Regions from separate parts of the Homo sapiens genome. Here regions 1, 2, 3 and 5 are each linked to region 4. Evidence: promoter capture Hi-C in 16 types of primary human blood cells and fetal thymus (Javierre and others, 2016). All regions are on one chromosome and are shown on one strand. Each heading gives the region's core, a stretch centred on a gene start or on the middle of the fragment in contact. The rest is flanking DNA. Distances are from core to core; before and after follow the strand shown.

Region 1 (4,416 bases), core at 380-2,879, 1.6 Mb before region 4:
AAGCTATTGTATCTTTCTGACTCCCAGTCTCTTTATCTGTAAAATGGGGATAATATCAACTTTACAAGGTTGTTAAGGAGGCTAAATATGATGTTTTAGAAATAAGATTAAACTATGTATATGTATTTGTGCAAGTGCCTAGCACAGTGCCTAAAATACCTGAATGTGAGTCTATATTCAAAATCGTTTACAATAAAATTCTTACCATCAAATGAAAAGCCTATAACATATACTCACATATAAGACTAGAGGAAGTATAAATTGTTACACTCTTTCTAGAGGGCAAAACTCTAAATATTCATAACTTTGATCCAGCAATTTTACATCTAGGAATTCACCCCAAGGCAATAATCAGTGTATGCAAAGATTTATTCACTAGGGTGTTCATCAAAGCACTGTTTACAATGGGAAAGTTAATCACAAATATCCCAAATGTCTAACAATAGGGACTTAGTTTAATGAATACTAATATAACTATAGGATAGAATACAATATCAAAAATAGTGTTAGAGAAGAATATTTAATGACATGGGAAAATGTATATTTTATTATCAGGGATTTTTACATAGTTTATAAATTTGTGTATAGTATAATCTCAAAAAATGTCAACGAGTGTATATGTATGTGTACATATACATACGCATAGGGGGAAAAGGCTGGAAGGTTGTATATCTGTGATTCCCAAACTGTGTGCTGAGGTGCCTTAGGGCACTGCAGTGAACTCCTAAGGGTGCCGTGGGATATTTTAAAATTTCAAGGGACAAAGTGTCATCTGTCTGGTGGCATCTGGTGATGGCTCCAAAGTAACCTCATAACTCCTACAAGTGAGAAGAGAGGATGCTTGGTTTCTTGACATTTAATTTGTACCAAAAGTTCTCCAGGGGGAACTCACAGGAAACAGGACAAGCCAATTTAGCATAAAACCCTAAACCCTTTGTTAGCTGAAAATTCAAGGAGTATCTCTAATTAAAGCCCATCTAAGAGTCCTTACTTATCAAGGGTGGCAAAGGAGGTCATTTCAGGGAAAAGCTTCCTTAAAAAAAAAAAAAAAGGGGGGGGGTATCTATTCCATCCTGCTGGATTTTGAAATTCTATAGCCAGAGATTAGTTTAAGATCATTTATTTGGGACATGAAGTTACTGTGGACCTGAGCTACAGAGAAGAGATCGAAACAAACGTCACGAAATCAACACTTGCACATAGCATCTCAACCTTTTCTTTAATGCACCACAGAAACTACAGCTTTAGGCTGGTAAAGGATCTGAAGAGTTATCTGGGCCTAGCTAGGAACCAAATGTAAAAAGTTTGTAGTAAAAATGTTCCCAAGGGCAATATGAAAGAGAAATTGCCTGGGATCAACTTCTGTCCACATGAACTCTTGGCTGCAGACTGACTTGTTAAGTGTCAGAATACTGATTATTTAGGGAAAGGTAGGGAGAGGAAAGGGTTCCCGGAGAGGTGTGTTTGTGTACTAAACAAAAACCCAGTTACTGAAAGTCATTTGCCTCCAGGCAGAATTTCTGGGTAATTTTTCTACCTTGTCTAGGCTGTGGTCAAATTGAGAATGGCAAATGTGTATCAAAACAGGAGCGTTTGCCAGAGCTGTAACAGGTAGCCTGTTCCCTGCAAATCCAACCATGTGTTTTCACTCTTGGTACTAACCATTAGAAGTAGTCTACACAGCCTTTCTTTGGTAAGAAACAATACTTTTATGTGCTCAAAAACTATTAGACTTAGACTTACAGTGCTGATGGCTGGAAAGTAGCCTGTTTGAGGCAATTGAATACATAGGTTTTTTGGTGGATCGAAATATACACTGAGACTCCCAGGTAGCTGACTATAATGGTGATACCCTAGGTCCCCATCTCCCATTATTTCCTCCAAAAATGATATAGAACAAGAAGGGAAAAATAAAACTACACAGAAAAACACACCATCAGCATAACTTGAGGACAGAGAATTCCCAAACATCAAATTGACTGTTAAGTAAAAGAGAGAAAACACCAAGTCTCAGCATATTTCCTCCTGTTACAAGGTGAGGGAGGGCAGATTCAGAAAGCCACATGGAAGAAATGAACTAGCAGTGGGTCCTAAGATTGATCTAAAACCACCACCAGAAAAATTGTCTGCCCTAAGTCTGAAAAATACTACAGATTTTTTCAGATAGACACAAACTACAAAAAAGGGCCTAAAAGTATGCATATTTTACAGGAGCAGTTTTCTCTATATAAAGCTTCTGGGGGAGACAAAAGACAAACAGGAAGGGAAATCTGCCCTTCAGCAATTGGGAGTGAAGAAGAAAAGAGGCAAAAAGGAAATTTCTAGGACCCTGCAAGACAAAATAAAACCAAAAAATTCAAGGACACGCAGGAGTTGTATGTGTCCTTCAACTCCTGCCTCACCACCAAAACAAACAAATACACTAAAATATTTGAACTTCAACAAACTGACAGAAGATGGTGCCATTAAACTAGGGATCTTGTGAAACACACCAAAGCCACACAAATGAGTAAGAGATAGATTAGCAGATCCACATAGAGTGATTGCAAAAGGTCAATGAAAGAATATATGAAGCAAGGGTTTTATGTCCAACCATGCTGTTCATCAAGTATAGAAAAGCAATTTTCAACATACAGGAACTTAGAGAATTTTGCACCCATGAGTCCTTTATGAGGCATCTACCACAGGACAAGCTTCATCCAACCAAGGGATAATTGGGGAAATGTCAGCAAAAGGATGGGTAGCATACATTTTAATACATGTAAATGTAGATCTAAAACTAAAAGTACAGTGGAGATGAAGATAGAAAACTAAGGTGCAATTTTAAATGTTGTGACAACAGAGAATGATACAACTAAAAATGAGAGAAGGGAGAGGTAAAGAAGAAAATAGAATAAGCTAATTGATCACTGTCTAGGCAATAAGTGGCTGTTAAAGGATACCAATAAGAACTAGTTAACCAGATAGTAAAGGCTTGAATAATAAAACAGAGGACTAAGGACATTAAAATGGTATAAGAAAAAAGAAGACTACTAGCAAAAAAAAAAAAAATACAAATCTTCCTAAATACCAAAAAATTGTTTTATATAAACAGAGAAGACAACACATCTTACAGAGGAAGAAACATAACAAATATAACAAAATACACATAATTATAACATTTATCAGAGTTTAGTCATATCAATGAATATGAGTGAGCTTAATTTGCCTATTTAAAAACTTTTCAATTTGGCTCACAAAGCAAATCCAACTATATGCTCTATACATTAAACACACACAAGATTTTTATTTATTAATTAGGTCCTGATTATTTGAAAAAACATGACCAAGAAAAAGAGAGAGAAAACACAAATAAAATAAGCAATGACAGGAAAAAATACCACTGAAACAAAAGAAATTTTAAAAATTATAAGAGACTATTTTGCAGACCTCTGTGCAAATAAATTTGAAAACCTAGATGAAATGGATAATTTCCTAGAAGAGTAAAAATTGCCAGAATTGGCGTCATTAGAATTGGTAAGCTTAAACAGACTGATTTCCATGGGAGAACCAGAAGAAGTTATTAAGGAGCCATGCCACTAAAAAACATCAGGCCTAGATGGTTTCCCAGAGGAATTCTACTAAACCTTCAAAGTCCAGATGTTCCCAATGCTCTATAAATTGTTTACAAACATTGAAAATGAAGCAAAACTTCCCTATTATTTCTTTTATGGAGCAAGTATAACATTGACACCTGAACTGATAAAGACAGTCAGACCAATATCACTCATGATTATTGATTCAAAAATACTAAATTCAACATTAGCAAACAGAATATAACATCATATTATATTAGGAGATTAATATACTGTGACCAATGGGATTTATTCTAGGAATGGAAGGTTGGTTCAATATTAGGAAATCTATTAGTATCATATATCATATTAACAGATCTAGGAGGGGAAAACCCATATGGTTAGCTCCTTGGATACTGGCTAAGCCTTAAACAAAATTCAATATCTATTTTTAATTAGAAATGCCCCTAATGTTTCCATACATATGTATATATGTATGTATATATATCTAATGTTAGAGAAAACCCCATTTACAGCAATAACAAAGAAGACCAAATACTTAGGAATTAATTTACCAGAAATGTGTAAAACTTATATGAGAAAAACTTTAAAGCACTCCTTAAAGACACAACATTAGACTTTTTCAAATAGAAAGACATCCCCTGTTCTTGGATAGAATGATTCAACACTACAAACAAATCAGTTCTCTCTAAGTTACTTAATAAGTTTAACACAATTTCAATAAAAATACCAATAAGCTTTATTTTATGGAGTTAGATACTTATGGGAAAACAAACATATAAGACTAGCCAGGAAAACACTGAAAAAGGAAACCTAGCCCTACCAGACATTAAGATATAGT
Region 2 (4,907 bases), core at 76-2,575, 1.6 Mb before region 4:
AGTTCATGTGAATTTAACTCTGTGAGAATCTGCCATACAGTTTTTCAAAGTGGTTGTGCTGTTTTTACATTTCTGTTATATTCTTCTATATTTCTTCATCCTTCAAGTTGAATCAGTATGTAGATTATTAAACTATAAATAATTTGGCTTAACAGAAAACACCTTTTTTTTAGTCACATAAGGACATAGATATTAATGCTACCTAAGTAGTCTAGGCAATTCTCTTAACTACTGTCAGTCCTAATGTTTTTCAAAAATCTTTGGAGATAATGTTAACTGCCTATCAAGAGTCATTTTTCTCTGACATAACTATGTAAAAGCACTTTGAAAAGCATAAGGCACTATACAAGGGTAAGATAGTATATTTTTAAAAGTACTGAACTGTAACCCAATTCCATATGTTTTTGTGATTTCTGTCATGTATTTTGAAACAAAAACATACATAGCTACCAAGTATGTTTATTATAAAATTATTCCCATAGTTCATAATTCATTCTTAGAATGAAGAGTTATTATACTGAAGTGTAATGGCTATTTACTCCTTACTTATTTATACCCTGTCTTATTTTTAAAAGTTTTAAGGTACTTTAGAGATTAATGTATCAAGAAAAATAGGTGCTCAAATGTTTTCTGTCTTGTCCACAGAGGGGCACTGTTGGATTATTTAGAAATCAAAAAACATGTAACATTTATTTCTTTGTTCATGGTTAGAAATATTTGCTTTTAAAGTATTTCTGGTGCTAAAGGACTAGTCTTTCTACCATGAAGCATATAAAGGGTTAAGCTCAGTGAAAACTGTTGTCTTAAGTGTAGTTGGGTTAATGAGAACACAGTTCTGCAAATACATCTTTTCATGTAGTCATAGTATTTACAGTGAGCAAAGGTCCTTTGATATCACAAATAGGCCTTTGTAACAGCCTCTTGAAAGTGAAATTAAACCCTCAACTTTTCTTTTAGTTCTGTCTTTCATCTTCCCTTTTAATTTGTTGGTAAATTTTCCTCAGATAAAAACAAGAATACCTACTTACGATGAAGATGACAACACTATTCTTTATGCGTATGAAACAAAACCTGAATTTGTCAATAAAGTATGTTAATTGCTAATTGCCAAATATATTAACATTTGCTGTTTTAAAGGAAAAGATGTAAATTCCTCGTATACTATGGAGTTCCCGTAAACTCACACTCAAGAAAATATCTCTCCCCTGAATTTGTATGCTTGCTTTCATCAGAGAATGAGCACTTAACCAATTTACTTTCCCCTTTTTCTTATATAGTAGAAAATTAAGAGCAGTTTTGTACTCACTTTCAGTATAAAACTCTAAACCTGGATTCTTCTGATATAATAAATTCTTTTCTTGCCCCCTTCCTCAATTGTCAGTTTTTCATTCTCATATTAATGTGAATTTTAAAAATCTCTGCTTAATTTAAGACTTCTGAAACCCCTTGAAAAGTTGGTGATAAATAAAAACAATTTAAATAAATAAATATAGCTCCCCCCTGCCCCCAGTGTTCAGTTTGGCTGTTACAGAAATAAATCATTAACTACTTTTAAAATATTAGCAGGAACCGAATATTGTATCTGACGCATCCTGTAATACTGAAGAGCAACTGAAGACAGTTGATGATGTCCTTATTCATTGCCAGGTATGGAAGTTCTGTCTCTTCAATGTAGTTTTCTAAAATGTTAAGCAAAAATTCTCTTTATCTCACATAAAGGGAAAGTGTACAATTAATTGAAATTTTGCCTATCAATTTATTTATGATTATCATCCCATTGTGATGATTTTTTAAAACAATTTATAGTTAGAACCACATTTCCTGAATAGCAACATGTAGATTTAATAGCTTTTTAAAAAGCCCATTACCAACCAAATGTAGTTATGTCTCTTTCATCTACATTGCTCAGTATTAAATTAGTTTCCCCTACAAAATCCTTAAAGGAAATTGACTGATTTGGATGAAATTTAGTATGTGCCTAAATGCACATCAAGATATCTCAATGGAAACAAAGTGGCAGCCCATCAAGGTTTAGTAAAGAAACATACCTAAGGTAGTTTTGAGGAGTTGTTTTAAGAATCACCATGTTGGTAGAGATGTGATTACTGGGAATTTTGTGAGTTGCATACCCCAGAGGTAATGAAGGTTTATATATATATAATGTTTCTTACCATATATAAGGTTTCTTGAATGGAATGAGCTAACATACTTTGGAAAGTAAAATTGTTTGGGTGTTTATCATGATCATGGAGGAGAACAGAAGTGGAGTGCTTCCAAGGGACACATACAGTCTTGGGGGGAAGTGGGTGCAGAGGCGAGCTGGGAAGGGAGGGAGCAGGTTCTCCCCAGCCTGCCTCCCCATGCACTGCTAGGTCATGGTCTAGGTCAGCTTATACGCTGAGGTGGGAGGTAGCATCTGTGGGGGGAGGTGTCCAGGGCCATGGTCAGCCTGAAATGGCCCCAAGGGCCCCTCTCCATTGCTGCCAAGGGGCTGGCTCTTTCTTCCCCTACCCGTTCTAGATCACAGAGGTGGCACTCCAGCCTGCCTTGTTCTTTCATCCCAGTTCCCTCTTGAGTCTGTCTCCATCCTGCTTAGTCTGGAAGCAGAGGAAGACCTCGCCATCCCCTGCCTACCTCAGCTCCCTAGTCCTGCCTCTTCACTCGTGGAGATAGTGGAGCACCTGGGGCAGTCCTCTCCTCCGAGTCCTCATAACTGTCCCCACAGCCAACCAACTGCCCTCATCCCTGCCCTTCTTCTGACCCCTTCCCGGCCATTCTAGTGACCAGGGCTGACACCCTTGCTGCTTTCTGCATCTAGTCCCCTCCCTGAACTCAGAGCTGCCCCCCATCGGGCATCCCCCTCTCTCTCCTCTGGCTCCAGTCCCTGTCCCTCCTTCCCCTCTACGAGTTCTCCCACATCTTGGAGAAGCCACTTCTCTTGCTTCCCATCCCTCCTTTCCTGTCATCCTCACTCTCTTCTTCCTGTGACAGCCCCACTCCTGGAATGTCATTCATACTTGCTGTCTCCACACCTGGCTTCCTGTTTTTCTCTCTGGGTATTTATGAACCTGCTGTTCCTTCTATGCTGTAAGCCCTTCCATGCATCCTCACCTGGCGAGGGCCTTCTCATGTTTTAATTCTCACTTCAGACCTCACCTCCTCTGAAAAGGTCTCCGTGACTGCAGCCTGGGTTAGGACTGCTTTTCTGTGCAGGCTTAGCCTCCTGTTCCCACCTGTGTCACGCCACTGGTAATAACAATAGTAACATGAAGAGACCACTGAGCACTGTTGGACCGGGTGTAGTGTAGTGCTGTTACTGTTAGTATTAACCTAATACTATAGCAAGGTTCTCGTCCTCGAGAGAACCCTGAGAGAGCTTTTCATCCTGATTCCCTACATGAGGACACTGAAGCACAGAGAGGTTAAGTAACTTGCCCTGGGTCACACAGCCAATAAGTGGCTGGACTGTAGTATTTGACCCCAACCATGTTCCCCAAGAGCCTGCACTGTTTATCTCAGTGCCGCAGCCCTGTGGTTCTCACTAGGGCCATCAGAATCACCTGGGGGGCTTGTGAAAACATAGACCACTGCCCCCACTCTCAGAGTTCCAGGTTCCATAGGTCTGGGGTACAACCTGGCATTTGGCATTTCTGATGAGCTTACAGGTGATGTTGATGCTACCAGTCCGTGGACCACACTTTGCAAACCACTGTTCCAGGCTGTTTATCACTTTGTCTGCTGGAATCCTCTTTTTACTTGTCTCTCTCCCAGCTGAGATGGTAGTTCCTCTAGGACAGGCTGGAGTGCAGTGGCTCAGTCATGGCTCACTGCAGCCACAACTTCCCAGGCTCAGGTGATTCTCCCACCTCAGCCTTCCTAGTAGCATGGACTACAGGCATGCACCACCACGCTTGGCTGATTTTGTGTATTTTTGGTAGAGACGGGGGTTTCGCCATGTTGCCTAGGCTTGTCTCCAACTCCTGAGCTCAAGCGATTCACCTGCCTTAGCCTCCCAAAGTGCTGGGATTACAGGCATGAGCCACCGCACCCGGCCAGGAGCTTTTTTTTTCGGTCCATGTTCTCAATACCTAGCAAAGTAGTTCTGCCAGGTGGTAGGCCATCAATAAAGGTTTAGTTGAATGAGTGAATGAATGAATGAATGAATGAATGAGGAAATGTTTCTGGCCCTTTGTTTAAGTGTATTTTTCTTTGCCCAAAGTTTCTGTGTATTTCAAGAAGAATTCTCAGATTTTTATCAGCCTCCTATGTGCTTGATTGCAATGTTTCTGGCCCTTTGCTTAAGTGTATTTTTCTTTGCCCAAAGTCTCTGTGTATTTCAAGAAGAATTCTCAGACTTTTATCAGTCTCCTATGTGTTCGATTGGCGCGTAAGAGATGTGTACTTAACGGTTTTGTAAGATTAATTGCTGACTGCGTGATTTAAAAATACTTTGAAGCCAAAAGTCACATCTGTTATATTTGGTTCAGTGTTCTTTCTGGAGTGGAACACTCACTGTCTGTATATAATATAGACTTCATATTTGTACATATATGAACATATATGTTACATATGTATATCATAAAGTGAGTCTTTGTTCTTTTAGCAGATTTCTTTCCTAAAATAGCACCTTCCTTGATGTGCAGTGTCTTCATCATCAATGTGCTAGCATAGAGGCATTGTGGGACATTCATTCACCAGCATTAGAGCTTCCTCAATTCCTACATGGAGTAGAGCAGGGGAGGGGACTACTCTAGCTCAGCCTGTTGGCTCTGTGTCACCTACAGCCAGGCCTTGAATAGGAGCAAGACATTTCTGATGGCTTGAGAACTTTTGTTGTGTCTAGCAGTTAACATTTGACTTAATGGTATTTTCACGTTACTTTTCTTTGAAATAAAAAATTATATTTT
Region 3 (5,029 bases), core at 74-2,573, 1.6 Mb before region 4:
CGGAGGAGACTACAGCCCAGGTCGTGCCTCACTAGGAGGCTTCCTCCAGGTGGAGGTGCTGCTGCCTTCTACCACTCCTGGGGCACACTTGAGGCCCCACTTCCCGGACCTCCTCCCGGGGTCTCAGTGCTAGACTCAGCCTGGGAGACAGGCTGAAGTTCTCAGGCAAATTTTACTCTACCAAGGCCACCCTTTTGTAGGTAACCACCAGGAGCATGGACATCTCTGGGCTCAGGCTGGGCATCAGGCGTCCTGACAGTTCCTTTGGTGATCCTGGGGTGCAGCCGGGGTAGGGAACCCAGTGTCTGGCAGAGTGACCAATACTGGCTGTGTCGTGGGAGCGCCCCTGGCCCACCCTCCCTGCTTGCTCAAGGGTAGTGGCTGCCAGGCTAGGCCTGTGCTCCCACCACCGCTTCCGTCCCCCAGCTCCCCTGAGTCGCATTCCAAGATCCCCAACATTCCCCTGCTCTGTTCCTATCGTCCCCAGAAATGTCGAGGTCACTGCTTCAGCTCTGCACCCTGCAGTGTGCTGTGTCCCCAGCTTTCATTTTAGCTTGTCCCCAAGGCTACCAAGTCCCAGGCCAGCGATCTTCTCTCTCCCTGGCTTTGCTGGGACACGGTTTCCCATTAATGAAGGGTGAGGTGGTTCTTTTCTGAAAATCTGGACCCTTCAGGATTTTCAGTCTGGGCCCTCCCCAGGGGTGTCTCAAGAGGCTCACAGAGGAGGGGTGTATGCTAGGTAGGTGCCCGTGCCAGGACCACTCTGGAAGATTCCTGAGGTTGTTGCTGTGATCTGCCAGCAGAGGGCGCTGTATCCCAGCGCAGATGAAGTGGGTAAGAGGGTGGTTTCTTCCCAGTAGGTGGGTGGAGAAGCAGGGCTGTTCTGACTTTTTGAATTCCTTTGCTGCAAAAAAAATCCTCTTCCCGTGGTGGAGAGGTCAGCAGCTCATAAATGGCATGAGCAAGAGATTCCTTTTCTATGCTCACCTCACAAACCCTTTTCTGTAGTTATTTCAAATACACTTGCCCCCAATTTATATAGCAGATGTGTTCTTCGGAAGTTGCCCACATGCTAGATCGTGTCTCAAGTGCACTCAAGAAACCTCCCTCATTCAAAACAGAAACTGATGTTATCTCTTGTAAAGCAAACTTTAGATTTCTAATTCAAATAACAATTCATCCACTCTAAGGCATCACATTCTTGTAAGAAGAGTTTGATAAAGGGGGTTCAGCTGTATAATTTACTTTTGAGGAAGCCTCAACCCCCCTGCTCACCAGGTTGCAGACTTCTAAGGCTGCATAGCCTCTTGGTGTCACTACAGAGCTGCCCCCAGGGCATGGCTTTCCATGGGCCCTGTGATTGGACGGTGGCCTCTGGATAAGGGACTGTCCCTGGGTGGGGACACCTGAAAGTCCCATCCTCATCTAGCGTCTATTTGCTGCAAGCAAGGAAGGGAACCCTGGCCCGTGTGCACCTCCTACTCATGGGCCCTGGGCGCTTGCGTTAGCTCATCAATCCCCATGAGAAAGGCAGCTGAGTTGTGCGGTTTTACTGATGAGGAATCCAAAGCAGGGTGAGGTCTAAGAACACATGCCACTTTGATTCCAGGCCCAATTTTGCCTTCAGGCTTCTTTCTCCCAGCCTGTGTCACTTTTTCTCCTATTCTAACGAGTTCATTTTCTTGCTGATAGCCAAGCGATCAACCCTTTTCTCAGGCCAATGGGAAGGAAATCAAAATGACATTTACATTAGTTCAAATATTGGTCAGTAGTCTGGAAGCAGGCATGAAAGTGCCTGGCTGGAAACCCACTTTCATGGAACAAAGTGAAATCTAAAACTCTGCTTACTGGAATTAAAGTCTTTTTAAAATCTAGAATTGTGGTGACCTTGCTCCCTATTATTATCTGTAAACAAGATATAATACAAATACATTTATTTATCATTATTTATATCATTTATATCCCTTGCTCATGCTTACTGTGTGCTCATTTATTGAGTACCCTGTCCTTGGTACCCCAGTGCACAAACCCAGATACTTGAAGATATTTTATTATTTCCATTTCACAGTTGAGAAAATGGAAGCAGAGAAGTTAAGTGACCTGCCCAAAGTCATACAGCTAGAAAGGAGCAAAGCTGGGAATTCAATCCAGACTTTGTGGCTCTAACACTGGCACTCTTAACTTTTACTCAGGGTCTCCAGCCATCCCCCTGCTTAGGTGTAGTGACAGGCACTCATTCTACTTCTGATGCAGAAACCTCTTGTGCTTGGTTATTTCTCATATTTCAAGAAAGAAGAATGCATGGATCTCTAAGAGAATTTAAAGGTTGTGTTCAGCCAGTTGAAAGATGTATAATAGTCTCATTTCATTATGACCCGGTGGGATACATAAGATAATGAATTGGGGCGTAGAAAGAAAATATTGAACCTATTTATGTTTGTTTCATTTTTGTCCAACATTTCTATTTTTGCACTTATTTTATAATGTACATATTTGTTTGGTAGTCCATGCATGTCATTTATAAAGAAATCCACAAACTCTGGGGAGGTGAATGCTCAAGCATTTTCTTTGTATGCCAGTGATGAGATGTTGACTATTGCTTGCTTTATGTTTTATGTATATTTTTATAAGAGTGTAGAAACCACTTTTGAAGAATCCATCTTGTTTTGAAAACATAGTAAGCCATACGGTTTAAAGGAATCAAGTAGTTCATCTTCTTTTGCAAAGTCAATTATAGATTCCAGATATTTGTTTCGTATGTTTGGGTTTCCATATATTGTACTGGTTTGGCTAAGAAGGGCACACTTGCACTTTCCACATAGGTTCAGTGCAGTCCACACACATTTATTGAGGGTCCCCTACATGTCAAGCACTGTGTTAGGTGTATGAGATACAATGACAATGACCTTGGCCCTAGAGGAGTGTGTGACACAGTGGGATAGACAGAGTCATACTTTCAATTGAATGAGATGGATGAGTTGATATACAGATGTGTGCATATGTTGCTATGGGAGGGCAAGAGGGGCTCTTAGCTTATGCCAGAGCAGTCATGGAAAGCTTTCTGGAGGAGGTGTTGTTTTGAGCTGAATCCTGAAGGATTAGTCAGAGTAAGAAGATGGCGAAGGTCAAGTGCAGTGGTTGGTGCCTATAATCCCAGCTCTTTGGGAGCGTGAGGTGGGAGGATCACTTGGGGCCAGAAGTTCGAGACCAGTCTGGGCAACAAAGAGAGACCCCGTCTCCAAACAAAAAACAAACAAAAAAAACCCAAGAAGGTGGGGAAGGAGTGTCAAGAGGAGGGCACTCAGGGGTGGAACCTCACAGGCAGGGCTGGGAACTGCTAACCTTCCTGTATCCCTGGAGCTTACACATAGGGTGAAGCAGGGAGTTCTAGCCACAGTGCTGGGCTGGCCGTGACCTCAGGAGGCCTGCTGACATGTGAGGCCACAGGGTGCGGGGAGGTATCCAACACCACAGGCTTTTATGCAGCAGAACGACATGGTGAAGCTTGCCTATTACCAAAACAATCCCGGTGGCAGTATAGAGGAGAGAATCAGGCAAGCTAAAGATGGGTGCATGGTGCCCATCCCGTTCTGACACCACTGTAAGAATCTAGGCAGAGGATGATGTGGGCAGGCTCAAGAACAGTAGTATGGAGGAAAGGAATGATGGATTTGAGGAAGACTGGGGAGTCAAAGTCAGGAAGACAGGTATCTGGGAGGTGAAAGTGAGGGAGAAGTCATGAAGAACAGCTCCACATTTCTTGCTTGGAGAACCAGGAAGCAGGCAGCAGCAGATGCAGAGGGTGTACATTGGATCTGAGGAGGGGTTGAGGATGGGCGATGCTGTCTAGTTCTAGGATGATGAATATGAGACACCAGCCTATTAATATGGCGGGTTGGTGAGGGGGAGAGAAAGAGAAAGAGGCAGAGAGAAAGAGAGAGAGGAAGGGAGGGAGAGAAGGAAAGAAGGAGAGAGAGAGGGGGAAAGAGAAGTCAGAGCTGAAGATAGAGATAAATAAACAAAATAAAAATGTTGGAGACAACTATGAGAATGTCATCCTAGGAAAGCACAGGGAATGAGAACTTAGGCCTGAAAGAGAGGGAAGAAGTGGAGCATCAGCATCGTTATCTGCAGAGGTCAAAATGAAGAGACAATCAGAGAGACCAGAGCATGGGGAGAGAGGTTTGCCAGGAAAGCTAAGGAGGAGGAGGGGGATGAAAGTGCCTCATACCTCCATGCCTTCACACCTGTACCTCCCAGAGGTCAGGGAGATGAGGCCTGGGAAACAACCAGGGCTCCCTGGGGAGTTCTTGCCATTTATAAAATTAAGCAGAAGCAGCACTTTGGGGAGTTTTTTAAAAAAGAAAAGAGAAAAAGGGAAGAAAGAGGGAAGAAAGGAGGGTAGGAGGGAGAGAGGAAGAAAGGGAAACCAGTAAAACATAAATTAAAATTTTAATTATTTGAAAATTTGTGGTTGCTCAAATGGGCTCTGCTGGATTTTAACCTTGATGGTCAAAACAAAGGAAGGGTCTAAAGAGTAAATAAATAGGACACAGGACCATACCCCAAATGTCTAAATCATGGTGTTCCATTCATCTGGTGCTTGTACAAGTCACCTTTGACTAGGATCCAAAATAGGGCCAAACCAGAAAGGCCTGACAGTGGCCAAGCTTGGGATGGAGCCAATATGGCCAAGAAATGATATATATGAAAGCAGAGAAGGTGCTCCAGGTTTCAATTCAATAAGCAACTATTGAGGCTTTGCCAGATACTATGCGCTATGGACCAAAAGCTGTGCCTGCTCTCAGGGAGCTTCCCACCCAAGGGACAAAGACTGGCTCAATAAAATGGGAGAGGCTTTCCTAGCCTGTTCCTCCCCTGCAGGGAGTCTCAGGGAAGCATGGGGAGGAGAGGAGCTGGGGATGGTCTCCCTACCGGAGACACTGGGGTTGGGCCTTGCAGAGTGGGGAAGGAAGAGGCACTTGCCAGGGACCAGGGGACAATTTCATGGGTCAGTTTCTGGATGAGA
Region 4 (5,107 bases), core at 2,555-5,054:
ACATTTATATGGTTCCAAAGTTAAAATGACCCCTAGCCATAATCCTTTCACCAGCTGCTGCTTAGTACCTCAAAGACATTTGCAAAGATTTGTTGACTTTTATGACACATGTATATGATTGTCCTACTCTAATTCATCTGCTGGGGGATGGGTGTTTCTTACTGGAAAACCGGAGACATGTCAAGGAGCATGATTTGCCTTAAAGCTCAGCTTGATCGAATACTTGTAGGGTGATTCGCTAACGAAAGGTAAAAAGGCATATTTCAGGGTCTCTAATCAAAATTGCCCTGCTTCACCCAGATACGTTTTTTTTGTTTTGTTTTTTAGAGAGATGGGGTCTCGCCCTGTCACCCAGGCCGCCATGCAGCGATGCCGCCATAGCTTACTGCAGCCTCAAACTCCTAGGCTCAAGCAATCCTCCCTCGTCAGCATCCCTAGTAGCTGGGACTACAGGCATGCAACACCATACCAGACTAATTATTTTATTTTTTGTACAGACGAGTATCACTTTGTGGCCCAGGCTGGCCTCAAACTCCTGGCCTCAAGTGATCCTCCTGCCTTGGTCTCCCAAAGTGCTGGGATTACAATTTCCCCCAAGATTAACGAGCCCTCCTTTCTTAAGACTTTCTCTTCCCGCCTTTTGCAAATCTTTCTTTCTCTCCGGCCTCCTCTCCTGATACAAGAGTCTTTTGTGAATGTTCTAGCGCGTTACTATAGCCTATAGTTATTATAGCCTATAGTTAATGACTATAACATTACTATAACGTTACTATAGCCTATAGTTAATGACTATTAACCACAATCATCACCTGTCACCACTTGACACAGCATCTCACAGTGTCCCTCACCTTCAAAGTTGCTTCCAACTCTGCTTTCAAATATCTGAAAACAGCTGGGCGCGGTGGCTCACACCTGTAATCCCAGCACTTTGGGAGGCCAAGGTGGGCAGATCACCTGAGGTCAGGAGTTTGAGACCAGCCTGGCCAACATGGTGAAACCCCGTCTCTACTAAAAAAATACAAAATTAGTCGGGCATGGTGGTGCTCGCCCGTTTTCCCAGCTACTCGGGAGGCTGAATGAGGAGTATCACTTGAACCTGGGAGTCAGATGTTGCAGTGAGCCAAGATGTCACCACTGTACTCCATCCTGGGCAACAGAGTGAGAATCTGTCTCAAAAAAAAAAAAAAAAAAAAGAGGCCGGGCGCAGTGTCTCATGCCTATAATCCCAGCACTTTGGGAGGCTGAGACGGGCGGATCACGAGGTCAGGAGATCAAGACCATACTGTCTAACATGGTGAAACCCTGTCTCTACGAAAAATACAAAAAAAATTAACCGGGCGTGGTGGCGGGCACCTGTAGTCCCAGCTACTCGGGAGGCTGAGGCAGGAGAATGGCGTGAACCTGGGAGGCGGAGCTTGCAGTGAGTTGAAATTGCACCACTACACTCCAGCCTGGGCGACAGAGCGAGACTCTGTCTCAAAAAAATAAATAAATAAAATATATATATATACACGTATGTGTGTATATATATGTATATATATGAAGAACAAGAAGTGCAGAGAAAATATCCTAGTCATTGAAAAATTGGTTACTTTGTTTCTGCACTGCAAAGTTACTTTAAACTTTGTAATGAATCTAGTGGAGAGATCATTTGAGATGAGGCAAATGTCCTGTTTCTCATCATACATTTACCCACTAATTTTAGCCTGTATTGATGATAATTCTCACCTGCAACAGTTACTGTGGTCTTTGCCAAATGGTGATTTTCTTTTTCTATTTTCATCATTCCTTCTATATTAATTAATTGGAATTCTACTGTAAGGAAAAGTTGTTCCTTCTAACCCATTGATTTGTTCAATCATGTATTTAAGTAGGACCTATATTTTACTTGTTCCTTGCTATATCTTCAGTGTGTAGTACAGTGTCTGACACAAAATCGGTGCTCAATAATAGGTGTTGGATGAATGAGCAAATGAATGAATGAATTCATATTCATATGGCCTACAGAGTTCCCGTACATGCACAACCAATATCACCACCCCGTGGAGATGACTCCCAAATTAATATTTTTAGCAAATGTTCCAGACTTACAACTCCAACTTCCCGGGGGACATCTTCAGATAGCTGTGCCACTGCCACCACCAGGTCAACATGTCCCAAACCATTCAGACCAGCTTTTTCTCCTGAGCTGGACATCTGGCCTCCAACCTTTTCATTCTCTTTTACCTTTCATATTCTATCAGCAGCAGCAGCTGCTGAAATCATACCATGCAAGTTTCTCACGTCCATCTCTGCCTTTTAATGGCGCCCTCTCACTCCTTTAAGAAGTTTTCTTCCACTGCAACACGATCTCTCAGTCCAGAGTCTGGCCCAGTGCCCAAATTATTTCTCTAGCTATGCTGAGAGCTGGTCATGCTTTGAACTTCTGCTTTGAATACTTTCAGTGACACTGGGAGAGAATTATCTCATTGGACCATTGTCATTGTTAGAAAATTCATTGTTATGCTGAAATGAAATGATTTTATTCACACACACACACACACACACACAAAATAGCTCTTCCTCCTGGAACATGACTGGCCTGAAAATGTGTGAAGACATATCCAATCCTCTCTGGTTTTACTGTTCATCCAATTTTCTGTTCTCCTCCTGGCAGGAGGATTATATTTCACCTTGTGGAACTCAGACATGGTCGGGTAACTAGCTCTGGTCCGTGAAAATTGAGAGGAAGTGACATGTGTCACTTCTGGGCAGAAGCTTTGAGAGCCGGTTTAAATGATCCCTTTTCTCTTCATCCATGAGACAAGCTAAGTTCCAGAGAGAGGGTGCCACGCTGTGAGGGACCTGTGTTACGAGTACGATGGCTCGCGTCACTTCAAATTCTTGAAATCACTGAAATTTGGAGGTCAGTTGTTACATCATAACCCAGCCAATTCTAGTTAGCCTGTTTTCTTCCTAACTTCTTTAATCGTTCTTCATAAGTCACAATCGCAGCCCCTCACCGTTCTGACCACTGTCCCCTGGATTCCACTCAGTTTACTCATTATCCCCCTTAAAATGTGGAGCCCAAATCTGAACCCGGAACCCCAGGTGCAATCCCACTAGGACACAACACAATGGGTTCCTGAGCCCTTTGATCCTCTGAATAGAGCCCCTTGTTGCTTTGGTGTTTTGTCTCTGTGTGTGCTTTTATCATCGGCTGAGCCACGCTGTTAACTCGCAGTGAGCCTGTGAACCAATAACTAGAGAAAAAAGATTTTTCCCATTGTCCTCTCGACATATATTGGGAAACAAATTTTTTGATCCGCGTTCAAGTAGACAGGGCAGAACTGTCCAACTGCTACGTGATCTTTTAAAGACAAAGTTAGTGGCAGACCATTTACAGAAACCAGATGTTCTGTCTTTTGGCTCTGAGCATGCTGCTAATCTTCATCATCTAGTGTACTGAACGAGATGTACTGAACGAGGGCTGCAGAGCTGCAGCACCGGCAGGAGTAGGCGCTCGGTAGGACGGGGCCTGCACAACCTCCCCGGTAGTCAGCAGAGCGGAATCTAGGAAGGCTCCTTTCCCGCGGCGCCCTGGAGGCGGGGGCCCCACCTTCCCACGCAGGCGCTATCAAGCCCCGCCTCCTCACCCGCCCGCGGCGTGGCGTCGGAAAGAGCCCTCAGCCCCTCCCTCTCTGGCGCTGATACCCAATGGGCAGCCTCAGGCCTTTAGCGGGGGCGGGGCACCCCCTGGACGCCGTTCTGGTTGGCCCGCGGCCCGGCGCAGCGCATGACGTTATTACGACTCTGTCACGCCGCGGTGCGACTGAGGCGTGGCGTCTGCTGGGGCACCTGAAGGAGACTTGGGGGCACCCGCGTCGTGCCTCCTGGGTTGTGAGGAGTCGCCGCTGCCGCCACTGCCTGTGCTTCATGAGGAAGATGCTCGCCGCCGTCTCCCGCGTGCTGTCTGGCGCTTCTCAGAAGCCGGTGAGACCTCCCGGGCGGGCCGGGATGGGGCGCGAGTGGGGCTGAGGCGGGGCCGGAGGGCAGGGCGGGCCAGGCCGGGCCACCCAGAGCGGGGTGGAAGGCGCCAGGGGAGCCGGGGAGCCTTTACTTCGCCTCCGCGCCCTGCATTCCGTTCCTGGCCTCGGGAGAAGCGGCACGGACCGGGATCACGCCAAGGTCCGTGTGAACTTCCCCCTTCTCGACACCCACCTCCCGCCCCCGGGCCCAGCTGTGCGCCAGGCGAAGTCGGTGTGCTCAAGAGGTGCCTGTTGGGTTACAGGACACGGAAAGGGTGGCCTCGGCCTCCTTCGAGTCTCCAATTGACCCCACTCATTTCGGATCTTCTAACTTAATTTCTCTTGACCGAGAGGCTTTGTAATAGCGTAGAATCTGGAGACAGGGTGGCTTCGTTCAAACAGCACCCTCACCATTGACTAGCCCTGTGACCTTGAGCAAGTTTTTAAACGTCCCGGGGACCCGGTTTCCTAAAATGTTTGCTCGAAGTGGAGTTAATCTCTAAATGGAGATAAGAGTTATCTCTGAAATGTTATCAGTTAACTCTAAAATGGAGATAATAAGAGTCCCCACCTCTTGGGGTTGTCTTGAGGATTCAACGAGTGACACGTGTGGAAACGATTCCAAATAGCACCTGGCACATAATCGATAACATGTGTGTTGAATAGTGTTATTTATTGAGTCTCCAGTTCGGTATACATTTCTTGAACACCTGTGCTCAGTTCTGAGGCGGGTTCACAGAAGGTCAGCCTCTTCAGAAACAAACTTCCTCCTCTTCCCTCTCCCTCAACATCTGAGCTTTTCTTGGCAGTGAGTTCAGGAGCGCCGAAGCAGAACTCAGAGGACGCTGCCCTCCCCTCCCCTTACCTACACATTCTTAGGGTACAAGTAGCTAAAGCAAAGAGCAACGATGCTTGAGGGGTGGGGGGTAGAGTTTAGCACTATTTCATGGCCTCAGCATTTAGAGGTGCCTAACACCTGAGCTAGCATTCTGACCCCCCTAGGCACAGTGAGGTCGTGTTAATTGGTGTAACTGCAGGCCTCGGGATTCTGGTATTTCCCCCAGGACTTGATACCGCTCTACTTAGTACAGGCAGAGATT
Region 5 (4,031 bases), core at 67-2,566, 1.6 Mb before region 4:
ACCCATCTTGATCTAAGTGCTCTTCATAATGTCTTGAACAAACCATTCCACCACCGTCATCCACTGCATGTTTTTACTCATAATAAGCAGAACACAGTAGGAGAAACACTGAGGTCGAATCCTCCACCGTCCCTTGCAATTACACCAACGATCCTGAAATCTGTTAACCTTAGGTCCATCAACAAGTCTGAAGAAGTTAAGCAAAAAGAAGAAAACAATACAGATCTCCCTTATTTAGAGGAAAGCACACTCACAACGGCTGCCTTGTCTCCAAGTAAGATTAGGCCGCATACAGCAAATAAATCAGTATCTCGTCAATACTCCACTGAAGACACCATACTGTCCTTTTTAGACTCTTCTGCAGTTGAGATGGGACCAGATAAACTACATTTAGAAAAAAACTCTACTTTTGATGTGAAGAATCGCTGCGATCCAGAAACCATAACATCAGCTGGTAGCAGTCTTCTAGATTCAAATGTCACAAAAGACCAAGTGCGTACAGAGACTGAGCCTATTCCAGAAAACACGCCAACCAAAAACTGTGCTTTTCCCACAGAAGGATTTCAGAGGGTCTCTGCTGCCCGCCCAAATGATTTGGATGGTAAAATAATACAATATGGACCTGGTCCAGACGAAACTCTAGAACAGGTACAGAAGGCACCCTCTGCAGGTCTGGAGGAAGTTGCACAACCTGAATCTGTGGATGTAATCACATCTCAGTCAGACTCACCAACTAGAGCAACAGATGTAAGCAATCAATTTAAGCATCAATTTGTTATGAGCCGCCACCATGACAAAGTGCCTGGTACTATCAGCTATGAATCGGAGATAACATCTGTAAATTCATTCCCTGAAAAATGTTCCAAGCAGGAAAATATTGCTTCAGGTATTTCAGCCAAAAGTGCCTCTGATAACAGCAAAGCAGAGGAGACCCAAGGAAATGTGGATGAGGCTTCATTGAAAGGTCAGTCACTGATAACTTTGTCATAAAGGAAATGTGTCTCATGGCACTTCCTGGAATTTTTTCTTATGTTCCCAATAATACGGTACAGCCCTGGGTGTTGGTTTCCCTCCACTATTTCTTTGCACTTATTAAAACAATTGAGATAAAAGCTTTTGTTACTGGGTGAGTAAGCTTTGACAGGTATCTCTCTCATTTTTAAAAAATGGCAGCAAGGTAATTTCTGTTTGTTTGTTTGTTTGTTTGTTTGTTCCCTGAGTCAGTGAAGTACAGTAGCGTGCTGGGTAACTTCCTCTTAAAGATTCTTCTGTTCTTATTTTAAGAATCATCACCGAGTGATGACTCCATCATTTCACCACTTAGTGAAGACTCCCAAGCTGAAGCAGAGGGTGTGTTCGTGTCTCCAAACAAACCTCGAACAACTGAGGATTTATTTGCAGTCATTCACAGGTGAGGCAACATTACCAAGTCCCCCAAAACAAAAGGTACAACAAAGGTTTTGCCCCTTCAGGTACTTCTCACAAATGCAAATACAGGAAAGCTTTTTGTAATTGTAATACATTCAGCAAAAACAAAAGCAAGCAAAGAATAATTTTTCCAAATCAAGTTGATAGACTGATATGCAAGTTGGGAAATAGGATCTTTATATAGAGTTTGATAGACCTCGATTGAGAGACTTTTGTAAGAGTGGCTTTATTTTTCCCCAGGAAAAGACATTCTGGAACAAGTTTTTATGTGAAAACAATCTGTGGTTAAGTGACTTGGAGTGAAAGCTCAAACTCTAGTGTAATCTCTGACTTTTGAATACTTTCTTGAACCTAAAAAATATGATCAAAGCTGTAGTCATACACCAGCAGAGACAAACAGAAGTTGATTCACCATGGATGCACCAAAATCTCAGAAATCACCACTAAAGAACTTATTCATGTAACCAAATACCACCTCTTCCCCCAAAACTTATTGAAATAAAAAATAAAAAACTCACATTGTACCCTATAACTATATACAATTATTTGTCAGCTTAAAATAAAATAAAACTTAGAGAACACACACACACACAAAGTTGATCACAAAACAGTCTCAAGTTTGAGAAAAGACAATACGTGTTCCTGTCCATTTTATAGCTCAGAACAAGTAATAATTTCTCTGTTTTTCTTTCTTCTTAGAACTTAAATTTCTTTAATAGTACTGGCCTTCATCCCCAAAATTAATGCCCATATTCCATGAATACAGGTCTTTTGGGTTGCTTTTCCAGGACAGTGTTGTGTCCATGCTGCAAAGGCATATTTCCTCATCTGCCCCCATGAGCCCTTGTGATCCATGGTCCATATTTGCAAAAATTATTCCTTATAGCTAATGACCAAAGAACAGAACAGGAACTAGCCCTTGGACACCTAATCTACATATAACTGAGCTAGCCAATCATGATTTGCCATGCCTCCTCCTTTCACAAACACAACTGTCTTCTTAGACCTCGGGAACCTAGATGGAACTCCCAAGAGATACAACTTGGGGATTGTCTTTTCTACCTCATAAAGTTATCATTTTTGAAACAAATTCATCGTAAGCAGCTTACAATCTTTTTCTCCTGGAATTCTACTTTTTATAGGAATTTCTGTTTTCTGTTGATGTGGTTCTCTCATAAAGAAGGAGTACTGCTGTTCAACAATTGTTTTAAAAGGAGCCAATCAGAAACACCTTCTATGTATACCTTAGCAGGCATACTTCTCTACTCAGAGGGTGAAGAACCATTAGTTTCTTTTCCTTCACCCCTGTGCCTAGTCTAAGCTCTGATTATATTTCCCTCACCCCCACAGTTTATCTTCAATCCCAGGAAAAATTACTAAACTGCTATGTAAGTTAAAAAGTTACTCCCAAAGGACCAAATGCTAGTGTATGGAATAGTGGACAGGACGTAAATAGTGGGGTCAGAAAGACCTGGATTTGAATCCCAACTCTGCCACTTCCTATGCAGTCTTGAGTAAGTTAAAACCTCTGGACCTACTCCCTTATTGCACATGGGAATGCCTATAGCTCACGTATTTGATTTTGATGATAACATTTTTTGTGTTTAGAATATGGTAGGTGCTAAAAGCCATTGTTAGTTTGAAAGCCCTAACTTAGTGGAGTGCCAGACACTGCCATATACAAGATATCAACCACAGAGGTTTCTGTGAACCAAAATCAAGCATATCTACACTTGTGAAGTTCACATTTTCTCTACCATATGAATCTTTAAGTTGATGAAAGTGCATGCTGCCTATCAATGAACTGAGTCATACTGAAGATCCACCAAATTTATGCCTGCTGATTTACCAAAGAAAATCAATAATATGATGATGGGAGTCAAGGTTCAATAGATGTATTGAGTTTGGTAATCTTAGACTTGCATTTGTGCAGGGTTTACTTATTTATCTATTTACTTGTTTATTTACATCACAGCAAAAAGAATTATTTTGTTTTCTTGCGAGCTTACAGTATACAAAGCTTTAAGAGCTCCAGAGATGGTCTGGGATTTCAATTCCCCACAGAGAGCTGGCTTACTGCTTAATATGCTCTTGATGCTCTTAGGAAGCTATAGGAAATGATACTTGCAGCCCAAGATGAATTGACTTAAAACGTCATTTAATTATGTTTTTATATGGAGGGATTTTAAAAGGTAGAATAGTATAATGTCTGCTGACATATCCATCATCCAGGATTATCAACTGTCAAACTAGGGCCAATCCTGTCCCACCCACACCTCCATCCACTTGCTTTCTCTGGTATTATTTGGAAGCCAATCCCAGACATCAGATCATTTCATCTGTATTGCAGAGACAGAGTTAATAAGAAAAAGTTATAGTCTTTCACCCCCTGGAACCAGAAGTATAGTTTAGTTAGCAGTATAGTTTCTTCCTTTTTTTTTTTTTTTTTTTTTTTTTTTTGAGGCAGAGTCTTGCTCTGTCGCCCAGGCTGCTGGAGTGCAATGGCGTGATCTCAGCTCACTGCAACCTCCGCCTCCCGGGTTCAAGTGATTCTCCTGCCTCAGCTTCCTGAGTAGCTGGGACTACAGGCATGCTCCATCATG

Evidence for each region. Contacts are between HindIII fragments. The CHiCAGO score rates a contact against its expected background, and 5 or more counts as called.
Region 1: a contact is called between a fragment that was not itself captured here and the fragment with the promoter of PDHA1 in region 4, in 1 of 17 cell types (naive CD4 T cells). The highest score is 5.1, in naive CD4 T cells.
Region 2: a fragment that was not itself captured here is called in contact with the fragment with the promoter of PDHA1 in region 4 in 4 of 17 cell types (naive B cells, non-activated CD4 T cells, activated CD4 T cells and 1 more); the score reaches 8.5 in naive B cells.
Region 3: a contact is called between a fragment that was not itself captured here and the fragment with the promoter of PDHA1 in region 4, in 2 of 17 cell types (naive CD8 T cells and non-activated CD4 T cells). The highest score is 7.3, in naive CD8 T cells.
Region 5: a fragment that was not itself captured here is called in contact with the fragment with the promoter of PDHA1 in region 4 in 2 of 17 cell types (non-activated CD4 T cells and M0 macrophages); the score reaches 6.6 in non-activated CD4 T cells.

The regions. Positions count from the first base shown.
Region 1 is chrX:17,694,892-17,699,307 of GRCh38, forward strand. The region is part of intron 3 of NHS (NHS actin remodeling regulator); the gene reads left to right. Among named protein-coding and RNA genes, the nearest start is that of SCML1, 40 kb to the right of the region's middle. The HindIII fragment of the contact is 1,204 bases long and covers 1,028-2,231 here.
Region 2 is chrX:17,744,452-17,749,358 of GRCh38, forward strand. SCML1 (Scm polycomb group protein like 1) reads left to right here. Exons shown (of 8, transcript NM_001037540.3): 3 at 1,005-1,088; 4 at 1,567-1,647. Among named protein-coding and RNA genes, the nearest start is that of SCML1, 9.4 kb to the left of the region's middle. The HindIII fragment of the contact is 8,319 bases long and covers 1-4,907 here.
Region 3 is chrX:17,787,815-17,792,843 of GRCh38, forward strand. No RefSeq gene overlaps it. Among named protein-coding and RNA genes, the nearest start is that of SCML1, 53 kb to the left of the region's middle. RefSeq lists an enhancer at 1-277. The HindIII fragment of the contact is 3,463 bases long and covers 1-3,055 here.
Region 4 is chrX:19,340,123-19,345,229 of GRCh38, forward strand. PDHA1 (pyruvate dehydrogenase E1 subunit alpha 1) reads left to right here and starts at 3,805. Exons shown (of 11, transcript NM_000284.4): 1 at 3,805-3,972. The coding sequence starts at 3,916. The HindIII fragment of the contact is 3,035 bases long and covers 2,756-5,107 here.
Region 5 is chrX:17,727,365-17,731,395 of GRCh38, forward strand. It overlaps NHS (NHS actin remodeling regulator), which reads left to right. Exons shown (of 9, transcript NM_001291867.2): 7 at 1-964; 8 at 1,285-1,411. Among named protein-coding and RNA genes, the nearest start is that of SCML1, 8.1 kb to the right of the region's middle. The HindIII fragment of the contact is 367 bases long and covers 1,134-1,500 here.